4 separate regions of the Homo sapiens genome follow, and regions 2, 3 and 4 are each linked to region 1. The links are contacts of gene promoters, found by promoter capture Hi-C in blood cells and fetal thymus (Javierre and others, 2016). All regions are on one chromosome and are shown on one strand. Each heading gives the region's core, a stretch centred on a gene start or on the middle of the fragment in contact. The rest is flanking DNA. Distances are from core to core; before and after follow the strand shown.

Region 1 (2,517 bases), core at 9-2,508:
TGACGTCCTTCTAAAATATAAATCTGATTATGTCGCCTGCTTAGAATCCTTCAGGAGTCCTCCCCACCCTCTTTTCTGGTCAGTCCAGTGGCTCACACAGATTGTGGCCTGGCTCTCAACCTTCCTGAAAGCCCTTTCCTCTGCCTGGAACATACCTCACGCTCCTGTCTTCCTTCTCTCCGGCGCCAGAGACTAGGTCCTCTCCCTGCTCCCACTGCCCCCATTACACTCGACTGTCCCTGACTGCTTCTTCATCTGTGCTCCCCTCTAGAGCATCGTGAGGACAAGAAGGGTCTCATGTTCACAGTTGTATTCCGTGACTAGTTCAGGACTCGACACAGTTGGCTTTTCATAAATGCTTGTTGCAGAATTTACGAATAAACAAATGAAGAAACAAACGAACGAATCAAAGGTGGGGGAGGGTGTGAAGGTGGAGCTGAACTACAGGGGCAATGCCAGGAGCAGGGATGTGAGGGTCAGATGGAGATGGGGACCAGAGGGAGGGGAAATGAATTTGCAGCAGGGCCAAGCTGGGAGGCTGTGCAAGTACATCCAGGGCCCGCCTTCCTGAAGAGGCCCCAGGCTCAAGCTCAAGTTCGCTGACTCAGACCCCTCCCCCACATTTTTGGGAAGCCAACCCGCCTAGCACGAAAAAGGAAGGGAACCCCTAACGCAACGCCGCAAACCGGAGAAACACCTGGAACCGGAGGGTTTCTCCTCTCGAAACTGAGCTGGCCCATCCCCCGCCAGCCCCTATCTGCCCCCCTCCGCGTCCTAGGCCGGCCCCTGGAGCCGGGGTGCCAGCGCTGCCCGCGCTGGGCCGGGGCTCCAGGCCGCAGGAGGGGGCCGGGCGGGCTTCCGGTCGGCGCGGCCGGGGCGGGGCCGGCGCTGGGGCCGGGCGCTGTCCATGGTGCCCGCGCGCCTCGCCCGGTCCCCGGCCCCAACCCTCCCGCGAGCTTCCTGGCGGGCTCCCTCACCGCTTGTAGTCGGAGGAGAAGATGCCGCCGCTCGCGGGGTCGTGGCCGTACTCGGGCTCCCCGGGGCCAGCGGAGCCGCCCTTGTCTTCGCTGTAGGCGGGGGCGGCCGACATGGGGCGGCCAGGGAGACTTCGCCGAGGAGGAGGTTGCGGGGCCGGAGGCCGGCTGGAGCGGAGGAAGGGAAGGCGGGCCGGTCCGGTCCGGGCTGGCGAAGGCGGCGGCGCGGCAGGGGTTCAGCAGAGGCTGCAGTGTGCAGCGGCGGAGGCTGCGCGCGGATTTCTCAATCAGGGCCGCGCGCTGAGGTCTTAAAGGCACCGGCGCCAGCCGAGCGGAGGGCGTGTCCGCGAGGAGGCGACAGGGGCGGTGCGTCAGGGCCTGGCCCCGCCCATCCCTAGGAAATGCCCTCTTCAGGGCGTCTTCTGCCCTTTAAAGCGACTTGGCTCGTCTCCAGATCTAAAGGTGGGCGAGTCTGCTGGACGGACGCTGGGACCGTCTTGCAGGGGATGTGGAATAGCTGCCCCCACCCCCGACCACCTGGCCTCGGCGGGACGGGCCTCTGGGGCTCCGCTCTCCCCAGACGCACGCGCGGATGCTCACCCACGCCGTGGAGGGAAAGCGGGAACTGGAAAGAAGGCTGTGCCCGCAGGCTGGGGGTTCTAGAGCGGGAAGGGGTCACCGCACCCGAGGACCGGCCTCAGATACCTAAGGACGCTCCCTTTCCCGCCCCACCTTTCCTACAAAATCTGGCTTGGCAGCAGGAAGCCGAGGAGCTTCCTGGAGGTGGCGGAATTTAAGGAATTAAGGTCAGGGAGCTCCGAGGAGCCCTTGGGGGCTTAGAGAGATGGGAAACAGGATACAGAGGACGGTGAACATCTAATTAAGCTTTGGAAAGTAGTTTAATGAATCTTTCTGAAGCCTCCACGTCCACCCAGGAGGGCCAAGGTCATGCTTAATCCGGGGACACGTCCACGTCCATTGACACCTGAAAAGGAAGAGAAGGGTCTGGTGTGACCACCAGGGCTCCTGAGTCATGTGAGCCCTCCAGTTCAGCTCCCGAGCCCGAGTGACCCCTAGGCCCAAGGAAGGAAGGCTTGGATCCGATGGAAAGTAGTGAATTGGGCTGGGGGAAGAGGTAGGATCCAGTTGGGCATCAGTTGAGGTGGCTGGAGTCTTTTAGCTGGGCATGGGGACTGGAGGAGTTCCTAAGGCCTGAGTCTTGGTCTGTAACTAGCATCCCGAAGTCTCCATGGGCAGAATTGGCGGGCCTACCTGGGAAGGAGTGGGGCCCAGAAAGGTGGAGCTTGGCTCAGTAGAAAAGTTCTATTGGGGGTAATTCTACTGGGGTAAGGTTCTATTGGGGTAATGAGAAGGTTCTGTTGGGATAACCTAGACAAGTGGGTGGGTCCGCTTGGTTCCGGTGGCTTTGTGCCTGCCAGAGAAAAGTGGATCTTGAATTTGGAGAAAACTGGCCTGGGTGGGGAGTGGGAAGAGAAGGGCCTGGATTTTGCAGTTGCGCGTTTATAAGGCGCTTTGGCTAGTC
Region 2 (2,517 bases), core at 9-2,508, 390 kb after region 1:
CTGGGCTTCATTAGGGAACAAATCAAAGATTCCTGCCCTCCTGGAACTTACATTCTAGCAGGGGAGACAGGTCATAAATAATATGCATAATGCATAAGACAATTATGTAGTGTGCTAGTATTATATAGTGCTATCAAAAAAAGGAATAAATAGAGTAAGGAGAACTGAGAATGCTAGTGAGGGAGGTTTAATCTTATTTTTTTCTTTTTATTGAGGCAGGGTCTCACTGTGTTGCCCCAGGCTGGAGTGCAGTGGTGCAATCATAGTTCACTGCAGCCTCCACCTCCCAGATTTGAGTGATCCTCCCACCTCAGCCTTCTGAGTAACTGGGACTACAGGTGTGCGACATCACGCCTGGCTAATTTTTAAATTTTTTGTACAGATGGGGTCTCACCATATTGCCCAGGCTAGTCTTGAAATTCTGGGCTCAAGTGATCCTCCTGCCTTAGCCTCCCAAAGTGCTGGGATTATAGGCATGAGCCACCATGCCTAAGAGTTTAACCCTTTTACCTTAATTTTGTTCAGTGAACACTTTCAGTCTTAAAGACTCACATATTTCTTGAGCTTAAGAAAATGTTGTTCTGTGACTTCTTTGGGTATTCTCTCTCTTTCATTTTCTCTGTTCTTTCCTAATCAGACAGATGCTGGATCTCTGTGTCTGTCCTTGGCACTCTCTTATGTTTGCTGTCTCTTTGTTTTTCTTGCTCTACATTCTGAGATTCCTTGATTCCAGATCAACTGCTTGGTCTTTCGCTGCATCCAATTTATTATTTGGCGCACTTATTGAGTGTTCCCTATTGCAATCCCACTTTTAATTCCCAAGAATCTTTTCTTGTTCTTTGCTTGTTCCTTTCCCATAGCCACCTCTTCTCAGTTCTTGAATGCAGCATCTTCTCAAATTATTCTGAAGATAGTGACCACAATTTTTATAAAATCTTTCTTTCCTAAATTATCTCTGTTTCCTCCAAGGTCAATTTTTCTATTGGTCCAACTTGGATCTTCTCTTCCATGCTGTTGGTTTTCCTAATATATTTGCAATCTTTGGTTTTCTGTTTACGTTGATGAATAAAGGACTATGTTCATTAGTATGGTAGTTTCCATGAGTGTCTTTGCAGAGATGTGTAAGTCACTGTTAGGCCCCTTCCTTGGCTGACAGAATCATCTGAGGGTTCTTTGTAAGTAGGTGGGGCCTATCAAAAGATAGAAACCCTTTTAGGTTGTCTGAAGGAGAAGCAAACAGTCAGGTTAGAGACATTCACAGTAGTTCAAGTGGGCTTTACCCTCCACTGAGGGGTAGATCTCTTTAGTATTTCAAACTGGGGTCTACTTCATTCTCAAGCCCTATACCCCGCTTCAAACACTCCATGAGCCACCCTGGGCAACATAACAAGATCTCGTCTCTACAAAAAATTAGCCAGGTGTGGTGGTGCAAGTCTGTAGTCCAAGACCCTGGAGGCTGAAGTGGGAGGATCACTTCAACTCAGAAATCTGAAGCTGCAGTGAGCTATGACTGCACAACTGTACTCCAGCCTGGGTGACAGAGCAAGACCCTGTCTCTAAAACAACAAAAAACACTCCTTAGGAAGTTTGCCCACTTTCTTTAAAAAGCAGTTTTCCTGATTAATCTTGAGTGTGAAAGCCATTGCTTCTAGTTACTACATGTTCATGCACAGAAGAGGGTAAGAGCTGACTATCTGAGCTATTCTCAGTGCTGTTCCTGAATGATCATCCAAAGTCTCCGTCTACTCTTTGCATTTGTTGATTCTGAGCTTGGACCTATCTCCCCTAGGAAGAATTCTGGTGCTTCAGTCTTAATCCTCTATTCTTTCTCCATTGCTGTTTTGTATTTTTCAGTTATCTACTGCTGCATAACCACCCCAAAATTTAGTGGCTTAAAACATTTAAAAAAGTATCATTTCTCATGTGGGTTGATTATGCAGTTGTTTTGCTTTATTTGGTGTTGAAAGGTTCATGACATCCTCCCATGGCTAATTTTTAGTGATACCTACTGGCTGGGATCTCAATTCAGGTTGTCAGCCAGGGACCTTAGTTCTTCTCCATGTTAGCCTTTCTACATGGCTGGTTGAGCTTCCTGACAGCATGGTGGCTTAGGTTCCAAGAAGGTGCATTCTAAGAGGATTAAACCCTAATGTACAAGCAGTTTTATAAGCCTCTGCTTACATTTCCTAATGTCTCACTGGCCAAAACAAACTACATAGCCAAGTTCACAGTCAAGTGGTAGGAGAGATGCTGTTTATTAGGGGCACCCAAAGTAACAGCACAATATTCTATGTATCCTTCACATTTTCTGGTTCACTAGTAGAACCCTTTCCTGTTTTCAAGTACTGTGTTTTTTCTTCTTTAAAAAATAAAACAGAGCTGAGATTGGTGGTGCACACTTGTAGTCCCAGATACTCAGGAGGCTGAGATAGGAGCATTGCTTGAGCCCAAGAGATCAAGGTCAGCCTGGTAAACATAGCAAGACCCTGTCTCTAAAAGAAAAAAAAAAATGTGTGT
Region 3 (2,517 bases), core at 11-2,510, 360 kb after region 1:
ACATGAGAGAGAGGGAGAGAGAGAGAAGATAATGGAATCAGTTCTATAGGATTCAGGTATTGAATTTATCAGACAAGGACTTTAAAATAACTATGATTGCACTTTGGGAGTCTGAGGGCAGGTGGATCACCTGAGGTAGGGAGTTTGAGACCAGCCTGGCCGGTATGGTAAAACCTTATCTCTACTAAAAATACAAAAAATTAGCTGGGCGTGGTAGTGGGTGCCTATAATCCCAGCTATTTGGGAGACTGAGGTGGGAGAATCGCTTGAACCTGGGAGGCGGAGGTCGCAGTAAGCCAAGATTGCACCACTGCACTCCAGCCTGGGCCTGACAGAGCGAGATCCCATCTCAAAAAAAAAAAAAATAAAAATAATAATAATAATAATAATAATAAATAAAATAACTATAATTACTGTATGAAAAAAATAGAAAAAAGATGAAGAATTTTACCAGAGAATTGGAATCTGTGCAGAAGGGTCAAATGGAGATCCTTGACCTGAAAAAGTACTATAACAAATTAATAACTAATTTGTGTTTAATAGAAAATTAGATATAGCAGAACAGAGAATTAATGTAACTGGAAGACAAGCCTGTAGAAAATGTTTAAATTGAAACACAGAGAGAAAAAAGCATAGAAAATACAGAAAACAGGCCAGGCACAGCAGCTCACACCTGTAATCCCAGCACTTTAGGAGCCCAAGACAGGCAGATTGCTTAAGGCCAGGAGTTTGAGACCAGCCTGGGCAACATGGCAAAGCTCCACCTTTACAAAAAATACAAAAATTAGCTGGGCATAGTGGTGTCCAACTGTAATCCCAGATACTCAGCTGGCTGATGCAGGAGAATCACTTGAACCCTGGAGGTGGAGGCTGCAGTGAGCCATGATCATGCCACTGCACTCCAGCCTGGGCAACAGAATGAGATCCTGTCTCAATAAAATAAATAAATAAATAGGAAACAACATATGTCTGTTAATTCTGTTAATCATGAGACAAAGTGAAAAGGACTAACATATGTATAATGGAGTCATAGAAGGATGATAGAGAATGAGGCAGAAGAGCATTTGAAAAAAATACTGGCTGGAAAATTTCCATACTGATGAAATATATCAAACTACAAGGAAATGTAAGCCTTTGCTACTCTTGCATTCTGCATATCTGCAGACTTAACACCACGTGGATGCCACCAAGGCTTATGGCTTGCATCCTCTGGATAGGCAGCCTGAGCAGCACCCAGGGCTGGAATGTAGGAAGCAGAGTCCAAAGGTGGCTGCAGGGCAGCAGCACCCCAGGCCTGGCCCCCAAAACATTCTGTCCTCCTAGACCCCTGGCCTGTGATGGGAGAGACAGACTTGAAGATTTCTGAAATGCCTTCAGGGACTTTTTCCATTGTCTTGACTATTAGCACCTGCCTCCCTTTTTTTTTTTTTTTTTTTTTTTTTTTTTTTTTTTTTTTTTTTTTTTTTTGTTAAAGACTGTCTCGCTCTGTTGCCAGGCTGGAGTGCAGTGGCATGGTCTTGGCTCACTGCAACCTCCACCTCCTGGGTTCAGGTTATTCTCTTGCCTCAGCCTACCAAGTAGCTGGGATTATAGGCATGTGCCACCATGCCCAGCTAATTTTTGTATTTTTAGTAGAGACGGGGTTTCACCATGTTGGCCAGGCTGGTCTTGAACTCCTGACCTTGTGATCTGCCCACCTTGGCCTCCCAAAGTGCTGAGATTACAGGCGTGAGCCACCACGCCTGGCCCGAGCACCTGCCTCCCTTTTATCTGTGATAATCTCTCTAACAAGTGGTGGCTCAGCTGTGCTCTTGGATTCCTCACCTGAAAATGTTCTTTCCTTCTGTACCACATGGCCAGGCTGAGAATTTTCCAAAGTTTTACTCTCTGCTTCCCTTTTAAGTTCCAATTTTAGATCATGCCTTGACTCCTATATCTGCTCATAATCTGTTAAAAGTAGCCACACCATGTCTTGGATGCTTTGCTGCTTAGAAATTTCTTCTACCAGATACCCTAGGTCATCACTCTGAAGTTCAGCCTTCCACAAAGTCCTAGTGCATGGACACAATGCAGCCACGTTATTTGCTATAGTTTAACAAGGGTGACCTTTGCTCCAGTTCCCAATAAGTGCCTCATTTCCAACTGAGACCTCATCAGCCTGGCCTTCATTGTTCATGTTTCTATCAGCATTTTGCCCACAACCACTTAACCAGTCTCAAAGTTTCAAACTTTCCCTTGTCTTCCTGTCTTCTTCTGAGCCCTCCAAACTCTTCCAACATCTTCCCATTACTCAGTTTTAAAACCACTTCCACATTTTCAGGTATCTTCCTAGTAACCCCCGACCCTTGGTACAAATTTTCTGTCCTAGTCCATTTGTGATGCTATAAAGGAGTACCTGATGCTACATAATTTATAAAGAAAAGAGGTTTATTTGGCTCACAGTTTTGCAGGCTGCTTCTACTCATGGTGGAAGGCAAAGGGGGCAGCTGGCATGTACAGATCACATGGTGAGAGAAG
Region 4 (2,517 bases), core at 6-2,505, 340 kb after region 1:
TCCAAACACAGTAAGTCCTCAACGTATGGGTTCTTGGAAACTGTGACTTCAAATGAAAGTGTCTAACGAAAGCAATTTTACCATGAGCTAACTGATAGAAACAAGAGTTAAGTTCCTATGGCATATTTCTGGTCACAAAAATACCACCAAGCTTCTAAATAAAGACTCAAAGCACTTCTAAATTGAACAGTGAAATAAATGTGAGCTATACATACATTTAAGAAAGATTAATACAGACAAGAAAGAGAATCATTTACCCAATTTTTGGTGAATCAGTGAGTGACAGTGGTCATAGTGGTGGTGGGTTAAATCCAGGAATAAACGTTTACAAAGTGAAAATTTTGAGGAGGACCTCCCACACAACGCAGTTCAAAAGCAAATAACATAGTGGACTTGCCGAGCGCTTTCATACTATGTCATTTATCATCAAACATTTGTATGATTATCATATACTTTACAAATTTTTACTTGATAAATCATTTTCCAATCCACTTATTCCAGTTCAGAGTCTCAGGTGGCCAGAGCTTATCCCAGTGGCTTGGTATAGGCAGGAACCAATCCCACACAGTACATCATTTCATCACAGGGCACACTCACACACACTCTCATTCAGACTGAGGCCATTTCGACACACCAAAGAACCTAAATGCACATCTTTGGGATGTGAGAGGAAACTAGAGTGCCTGGAGAAAACCACGAAGATACAGGAGAACATGTAAACCCTACAGATCGTGGCCCCCGCCAGGCGTCCATTTTTTTCTTATCAACATTATAATGAAACGACATTATTCAAGGACCTACTGTGCTATCCATTCTTTAAGGCTCATATCAGAACCTCCTCTGTCAAAATTTTCCTAACACTACTGCAATTTGAAGTAATCGCACCATTTTCCGGATTTGCATAGTAATTACTTTCTACATATCTAATTTAGAAAAGATAGAAATCACATTTTACCATATGTCCTCTCTTTTTTTTTAATTTTTATTTTAAGTTCAGGGGTACATGTGCAGGTTTGTCACAGAGGTAAACTTGTGTCATCGGGGTTTGCTGTACCGACTATTTCATCACCCAGGTATTAATGCCCTCTCTTCTATTAGCGTTTTAAATCTTAATTTTCAAATATTTGTTCTTTGATTCTCCAATTAGACGTTTCCTTAACAAGACAACTCATCTCTTACTATTTTTTATATTTCCTATGGACCCTAGAATAATGCCATGCATATGATGGGCATTCAATGAATATTTATTTGATTTGAAATCTTTTAACAGGCAATGAGCTAGTTAAGACTTTTAGAAATATTTTCACCAAAACAAAAAAAAGCAAAACTCTTAGAGAGACTTCAATCATTTGGGAAAGCCACTGATTTAAAAATAGCCCCTTCTCCAACAAGGCTGACAAGTAAGGCATTAACTGTACTTAAAATGTAACAATTTACTTCATAGCGAACTTACCTATATCAATATCAGTAAACCCTTCTGCACTTATTGCATCCATTGTGCTTTTGTCTATTGTATCTAGACAAAGACTAGCAAGCTGAGGTTCATCAAATAATCGAGCCTAAACATATAAAGAGATAGTTATTTAACTTTCATAGTTATTTTACCTTCAGACTGTACATATTTGAAATTAATATTGTCAACAGTTATAATTGCTAATTATGTAAAAATATCTACTTAAAATACACGCAATAATGTCTACATATTCTTAAAACTTTTCATTCTACAATCAGAAATGAAAAGCTAAAAATACAAATGCCCTGCTAAGAACAAATTGACATTACCAATACCAATCCTGTTATTTTTATGTGCTTGTGTGTGTGTGTGTGTGTGTGTGTGTGTGTGTGTACAGCCTATATTCTTATACATTACTTATTCTGATCCTTAATGAACCCTTTATGTTAGATAAGGCTTACATTATTATCCCATTTTCAGAGGTTTGGAGAGGTACAGTGACTTGCCTAAGATCATCTAGTTAAGTATGTTGCACAGCTAGTACTTAAATCTTATAGTCTTTTCACTAATTATAATATCAATTGTCAAGCACAACAGTGCAAATATCAGATTTTCTCTTCCATTGCCTGTTTTGATTTTGAGGAGAGAATAGGGTACTAGAATTTTAGAGCATGACAGCTCTGGAAACCTAAGCAAAATTAGGTCTAACAACACAAGAACAAATACATAAAATTCACATGACGGAATATTATACAACAATGAGAATGAACAATCTACAACTACACAAACCAATATAAATGAACCACACAAACCTAATGATGAGCAAAAAAGCCAGAATATATAATGAGCAAGAATATGTACTGTAGAATTCCAGAAGAACTAATTTTGGCTTTAAGATGTTAGAAGTCAAGCTTACAATATGTGCTTTATCAATACATATGTTATAACCCTCCCCCACAAAAAAAAAAAAAACAGTTTATAAGCAGGGGGAGTCCAAGTTAAACTCAAGCAAGATTTTTAAAAAGCTGAAACACTGAAAAAGGAGGTATGATGATAGGCATGCC

Evidence for each region. Contacts are between HindIII fragments. The CHiCAGO score rates a contact against its expected background, and 5 or more counts as called.
Region 2: a contact is called between a fragment that was not itself captured here and the fragment with the promoter of AP3B2 in region 1, in 1 of 17 cell types (monocytes). The highest score is 5.8, in monocytes.
Region 3: a contact is called between a fragment that was not itself captured here and the fragment with the promoter of AP3B2 in region 1, in 10 of 17 cell types (total CD8 T cells, naive CD8 T cells, total B cells and 7 more). The highest score is 10.3, in total CD8 T cells.
Region 4: a contact is called between a fragment that was not itself captured here and the fragment with the promoter of AP3B2 in region 1, in 4 of 17 cell types (activated CD4 T cells, total CD4 T cells, monocytes and 1 more). The highest score is 6.1, in activated CD4 T cells.

The regions. Positions count from the first base shown.
Region 1 is chr15:82,708,617-82,711,133 of GRCh38, forward strand. It overlaps AP3B2 (adaptor related protein complex 3 subunit beta 2), which reads right to left and starts at 1,259. Exons shown (of 27, transcript NM_001278512.2): 1 at 978-1,259. The coding sequence starts at 1,090. It also overlaps the pseudogene LOC338963. RefSeq lists silencers at 783-1,042, 1,263-1,312. The HindIII fragment of the contact is 2,125 bases long and covers 1-1,857 here.
Region 2 is chr15:83,096,185-83,098,701 of GRCh38, forward strand. It overlaps LOC124903543 (a long non-coding RNA gene), which reads right to left. Exons shown (of 2, transcript XR_007064743.1): 2 at 1-2,517. Among named protein-coding and RNA genes, the nearest start is that of TM6SF1, 10 kb to the right of the region's middle. The HindIII fragment of the contact is 2,989 bases long and covers 1-2,517 here.
Region 3 is chr15:83,072,557-83,075,073 of GRCh38, forward strand. No RefSeq gene overlaps it. Among named protein-coding and RNA genes, the nearest start is that of MIR4515, 6.5 kb to the left of the region's middle. The HindIII fragment of the contact is 7,362 bases long and covers 1-2,517 here.
Region 4 is chr15:83,048,620-83,051,136 of GRCh38, forward strand. It overlaps BTBD1 (BTB domain containing 1), which reads right to left. Exons shown (of 8, transcript NM_025238.4): 3 at 1,454-1,559. All of the region lies in intron 1 of LOC124903542 (a long non-coding RNA gene), which reads left to right. Among named protein-coding and RNA genes, the nearest start is that of BTBD1, 17 kb to the right of the region's middle. The HindIII fragment of the contact is 2,213 bases long and covers 150-2,362 here.